Regions from separate parts of the Homo sapiens genome. Here region 2 is linked to region 1. The links are contacts of gene promoters, found by promoter capture Hi-C in blood cells and fetal thymus (Javierre and others, 2016). All regions are on one chromosome and are shown on one strand. Each heading gives the region's core, a stretch centred on a gene start or on the middle of the fragment in contact. The rest is flanking DNA. Distances are from core to core; before and after follow the strand shown. Region 1 holds the start of LINC00525 (long intergenic non-protein coding RNA 525). Region 2 overlaps TNS3 (tensin 3).

Region 1 (3,085 bases), core at 576-3,075:
TGCGATTGTTGCTTGGGGTGTGTCACTCTGTACTTGAGTAGGTGGAGGGTGAACAGACTGATCAGCTGGCTATGAGATGAGAGCAGGATGATGATCATTCACTGGGATGTGTCTGGCCAACTGGGAAGAGTCAGGTAGCTCAAGGCCTGGAGATTCTCATCAGGGAGAGCACAATGGGGCCAGGCCTATAGCTGAGGTCCAGGCACAGAGGCTGGGCTATGAGAACCAGTGTCCTCAGTGACTGCGACAATGACATGTCCTCTGTCACCACCTGCTACCGTGAGGCCCCAGCCCCGGCTGACCTGTAGACTCAGATCTGGGCCTGAGAGGGAGGCTTGACTTCAGCCCCTCTCATGAACAGAATCCACAGCACCAGGGCTGAGAGTGGTGGCAGGGCCCAGGAACAGTGATATCCAGTAGAATAAGTGTGACCCACCCCAGCCCCCCACAAACCAGAGGGAGTGCTGAGCACCTCCGCCCAGCCTCAGGCAGCTGACTTCACTAAAGGAGGCCAAAAGGAAAGAAAAATGTGACAAGTGTGTTTTGATGGCTGATGCGCAGGCTCCCAGAGAACCTTCAGAAATCAGGTGGGAGTTGGAAAGATTTTTGAATTGTCCTCCTGCAATAGCATGTTGAAGAAAAACTAGCTAAATATACTTTATGTGTAATTCCATGTCCATATGCATGATTTCTTAGGTGGCAACCAAAGGCAAGGAGTTCCTGTGCAAATGGTATTGCCAATATTAAGGTTCTCAATACAGTATATATTTTGTTGTATTCATTTGCTAGGGCTGCCAGAACAAAGTTCCACAAATTGGTTGCCTTAAACAACAAAAATGCATTGTCTCACAATTTCTGGAGGACAGAAGTCTAAGATCAAGGTGTTGGCAGTGTTGTTCCTTCTAAAGGCTGAAGGAGAATCTGTTGCAGGCCTCTCTCCTTGGCTTGAGGACAACCATCTTCTCTCTGTGTCTCTTCCCATCATCTTCCCTCCAGGCATGTCTGGGTCCAAATTTCCCCTTTTTATTATTTTTTATGTATTTATTAATTTTTTTTTTGAGATGGAGTTTCACTCTTGTTGCCCAGCCTGGAGTGCAATGGCGCAATCTCGGCTCACTGCAACCTCTGCCTCCCGGGTTCAAGCGATTCTGCTGCCTTAGCCTCCCAAGTAGCTGGGATTACAGGTGCCTGCCACCATGCCCAGCTATTTTTTTTTCTTGTATTTTTAGTAGAGATAGGGTTTCTCCATGTTGGCCAGACTGGTCTTGAACTCCTGACCTCAGGTGATCCACCCACCTCGGCCTCCCAAAGTGCTGGGATTACAGGCATGAGCCACCATGCCCAGCCAAATCTCCTCTTCTTTATAAGGACACCGGTCATATTGGATGAGTCATATTGGATTACATGCCCACTCTACTCTAGTATAACCTCATTTTAATTTGATCACATTTTCAAAAACCCTGTTTCCAAATGCAGTTGCATTCTGAGGTACTAGGGGTTAGGACTTGGACATAGACATTTTGGGGGACACAATTCAACCCTTATTTGCCAAATCACTTTTTAGAATGATTAAGGCAATTAATGATCTTCTTAAAGTGAAGAAACAACCCACAGAATGGGAGAAAATATTTGCAAACTACCCATCTGACAAGGAATTAATAACCAGAATATATAAGGAGCTCAAACAACTCAACAGGAAAACATCTAGTAATCCAATCAGAAATCAAAATCTAGTAATCCAAATAAAAAATCAGAAATGAATAGATATTTCTCAAAAGAAGACTTACAAATGGCAAACAGGCATATGAAAAGGTGGTCATCGTCACTGATCATCAGAGAAATGCAAATCAAAACTACAATGAGATATCTCACCCCAGTTAAAATGGCTTTTATCCAAAAGACAGGCAATAACAAATGCTGGTGAGGATGTGGAGAAAAGGGAACACTAGTATATTGTTAGTGGGAATGTAAATTAGTACAACCACTATGGAGAACAGTTGGGAGGTTCCTCAAAAAACTAAAAATAGAACTAGCATATGATCCAGCAATCCCAGTGCTGGGTCTATACCCAAAAGGAAGGAAATCAGTATATTGAAGAGATATCTGCACTCCCATGTTTGTTGCAGCACTGTTCACAATAGCTAAGACTTAGAAGCAAATTTACAGTCCATCAACAGATGAACAGATAAAGAAAATGTGGTACATATACACAATGGAGTACTATTCAGCCATAAAAAGAATGAGATCCTGTCATTTGCAACAACATGGATGGAACGAAACTGGAGGACATTATGTTAAGTGAAATAAGCCAGGCACAGAAAGACAAACATCACATGTTCTCACTTATTTGTGGGATCTAAAAATCGAAACCATTGAAATCATGGACATAGAGAATAGGAAGGATGATTACCAGAGGCTGAAAAGGATAGTAGAGGACTGGGGAGATAAGGTGGGAATGGTTCATGGGTACCAAAAAAAAAAATAGAAGAATGAATAATACCTACTATTTGATAGCACGACAGGGAGACTATAGTCAATAATAATTTAAGTGTACATTTTAAAATAATTAAAAGTATAATTGGATTGTTTATACCACAAAGAATAAATGCTTGAGGGTATGGATACCCCATTCTTCATGATGTGCCTATTTCACATTGCATGCCTGTATTAAAACATCCCACGTACCCCATAAATATATACCCCTACTGTGTACCCACAAAAATTAAAAATAAAAAATTTTTTAATCTTGTCAACAGTGTATTAGGACATTGTGTTGTTGCAATTTCCTTAGCATCAAGTTCCGTCTTTAAAAAAAAAAAAAAAAAGCTTACTGATAGGTTTTTAGAGCCTGGTAATTCATTCTTTTTTGTTTTTTGTTTTTGCTCCGTTGCCCAGCCTGGAGTGCAGTGGCACAATCTGGGCTCACTGCAACCTCCGCCCCCTGGGTTCAAGCAATTCTTCTGCCTCAGCCTCCCAAGTAGCTGGGATTTTAGGTGCCAGCCACCACACCCGGCTAATTTTTGTATTTTTAGTAGAGATGAGGTTTTGCCATGTTGGCCAGGCTGGTCTCAAACTCCTGACCTCA
Region 2 (3,044 bases), core at 48-2,547, 300 kb after region 1:
CTCCTCCTTCAATATTTTGGCATGCCCATCAAATTGCCCAATCTTCCTAGTTACATTAACCAGCTTGACTTACTGGATTGTTTTCCCCACTGCCTCTCCCTTTTATTTAACACATTCAGGAGGAGGAGGCAACGTTTCCACGTGTGGCTAGGGGCCATTCCGGCCCCACACCTTATGCCACTCCTTGCTTTATTGCTGCTGTTCACAGTCAGCCTGGCTTCCTGCCAGGAGAGGGTGAAGTGAGGGGAGCGCAGGGCGGCAGGTGAGCATCTCCAGGCCACCTGCCCATCCTGGGAGCTGAAGGTTGCTCCTGGCAGCAGCATTTCCCAAACACCCACCAGGCATCTCAGAGCTTTCAGATGTCGTCTTAGTCAGCTTAGGCTGCCAAGACAAAGCACCACCGTGCGGGGCAGCTGCAGCAATGGGCGGTTATCACCCTCAGTCCTGGAGGCTGGAAGGCTGAGATGAGGGTGTCTGCAGGGTTGGATTCTCCTGAGGGCTTTCTCATTGGCTTGTAGGTGGCCGTTTTCTCCCTGTGTCCTCACATGGCTGCCCCTCTATGTGTGTCTGTGTCCTAATCTCCTCTTCTTTTTTTTTTTTTTTTTTTTTTTTTGGGACAGAGTCTTGCTCTGTCGCCCGGGCTGGAGTGCAGTGGTGCGATCTCGGCTCACTGCAAGCTCCGCCTCTCAGGTTCACGCCATTCTCCTGCCTCAGCCTCCCGAGTAGCTGGGACTACAGGAGCCCGCCACCATGCATGGCTAATTTTTTGTATTTTTAGTAGAGACGAGGTTTCACCGTGTTAGCCAGGATAATCTCCTCTTTTTATAAAGACACCACTCATACTGGATTAGGGCCACCCTAATGGTGTCATTTTAACTTAATCACTTCTTTAAAGATCCTGTTTCCAAACTGTCACCCTCTGAGGTCCTGGGCACTAGGACTTCAACATATGGATGTTTGTGGGAATGCATTTCATCCATTAACAGATGGTACCAGGCATTTTGTCAGTCTCCAGTGGGGAGGAGGACGGTGCTACCTTTGCCAGATATGGTGGGTAATAAATCATAAACTTGAAGTTATGGTCTTGATTATGGAACAGATGAGTCCTCTCTTCCACTGCCCTGCCCCTCCTTCATTAATCAATCAGTTTATAAATATTTATGTCCTGGGGACCTCTGATGCACCAGACACTGGGCCCTGTGTGGGGATATGGAGGCCTGCCGTGGTTCTCTTGTGGGGGAATTTACATTCTAGGACACTCCAGTGGCATAGTCCACTTGGGGCCTGAGACTGACCTGGGAGGGGATGAAGGTGCTTGCAGAGAGGTTTGGAGGTGCCGTTTTCTCCTCTGCTGTGTTCTCTGGGACACTGGTTTCATAACTATCCAGACACTTCAAGTCTCTTTACCTTTGACAAGATAGTTTCTTTTTTGGAAAGGGGATAAAATATGCTTAAATAGAAAAAGATGGAATGGGTTTCATGTTTTGTATGTTTCCTCTTCTCTGGGATGATGCATGTGGTCCTGGAAGTCACAGCACTTTCTAGAGGAAGTCCTAGTGATGTGGACCCCAAAGCACATGGCATCTCTGGGTGTTTATCCCGAGGCAGCCACTAAGGATGTTAACATTTTAAACTATAGAATGTTTCTCATAGCATCATTCATAAGAGTGGGAAATTTGAGACCAAAAAACATGCTGTTAAAGAGGGATTATGTTCCATCTGGATAATTGGGTACTATGCCACTGTTAAAAATTGCAGTGCAGAAGAAAATATAGTGATATGGACATAAAGCACCATTTGGCTTTTAAATAAGTATGGGCGGAAGAAAGTCGCCCGTACTTATTTAGGGGTCCATCCTATCTGGCTAAAGTTGGTTATCTTGGGGTATGGGAGGGAGAGAGAGGCTGATTCTGTCTGCTTCTTTTTGTATATGTCTACTTTCTGAATTTTCTATAACCAAGTAACTTTTATCATAAGAATGAAAGTAGGTGGTACTTGTTATTTAAAAAGCTGGTTCTCAGAGCTAGCCTCTCAAGGGCAGTGAGGCCCTGCTCTTCAGCCACAGGGGTCTACACAGGCTCCTCAGATGGCCTGGGACCTACATGCCTGGGGTCTGACTCCCGAGCTGCAAGCCTGCACCTGCGGGAAGGGATGGGGGGACTGCTTGTTCCTCATGCAGAAGGCTTCGTCTGTGGTTGGCTTGTGCTCACAGGAGGTGGCTTGAGCAGCCCCGTTTTTCACAGCTCATCCCAGCGCAGACTGATTTTATTTCATCTTGTTTTATATTACATTTTATTTTATTATCATTTTCAGATCCAATTTGTACAGGACATCTAATCTCTCTGGGATAGAAATGAGGGAGAAAAAAGGTTGGGGCATCCAGGAGGCACAGCTGTTCTAAATGTGAGCCACTGACTCATGAGGCACTTCCAGATGGAAGCCTCAGAGGTTAGAGGACACATCTGTCCCCATGTTTAAAAGGGAAATGGATGCCCTGTGCTCAGCTAGTGAAGCTGCCCTTTGGCAGAGCCCCAGGTGACTGTCCCATGGCGTGTGTGTGTGGGAGTTGGGAGGAGCCCGTGGGCCCTGGCCTAGAGCACTCATCCTGGGCAGACGTGGCCTCAGCTGACTAACCAGATGACCTTGAACGGGTCAGTTAGATACCAAGGACATTATTTCCTCACCTGTAAGAAATTGAGTAAGATCACCCATGTTTCTGTGTAGTGTAAACGTCATGTATGTGGCATATTGACATTATTTTGGCATGAGACGTACTGTCTCAATAGGTTTTAGGATTGACCTGAGCAGATATACTTCCTTTTTTTGGTGCCTCAGACTATGTCCTCTTCCCAGAGTCTCCTGATAGGCTCAAGCTTCTGCTTGTGAGCTGCTAGGAGCAAGTTCAGGGTGCACCTGAGGACAGTGCTGGGTCCCTGTCATTGTCCCTGTTTTTACAGATGAGGACACTGAGGCGACAGGGCTCACTGACTACCCAGAGTAACCTGTCTGTAGGGCAGAGCTAGGATTTGAGTCAGGCTCCCTGC

What was found. The method cuts DNA at HindIII sites, captures the fragments that hold promoters and counts their contacts. A CHiCAGO score of 5 or more calls a contact.
Region 2: a contact is called between a fragment that was not itself captured here and the fragment with the promoter of LINC00525 in region 1, in 6 of 17 cell types (naive B cells, total B cells, M0 macrophages and 3 more). The highest score is 14.0, in naive B cells.

What each region holds. Positions count from the first base shown.
Region 1 is chr7:47,760,216-47,763,300 of GRCh38, reverse strand. LINC00525 (long intergenic non-protein coding RNA 525) reads right to left here and starts at 1,825. Exons shown (of 3, transcript NR_038407.1): 1 at 1,788-1,825. The HindIII fragment of the contact is 4,383 bases long and covers 1-2,828 here.
Region 2 is chr7:47,457,782-47,460,825 of GRCh38, reverse strand. The region is part of intron 4 of TNS3 (tensin 3); the gene reads left to right. Among named protein-coding and RNA genes, the nearest start is that of SNORD151, 5.5 kb to the left of the region's middle. The HindIII fragment of the contact is 3,156 bases long and covers 1-2,875 here.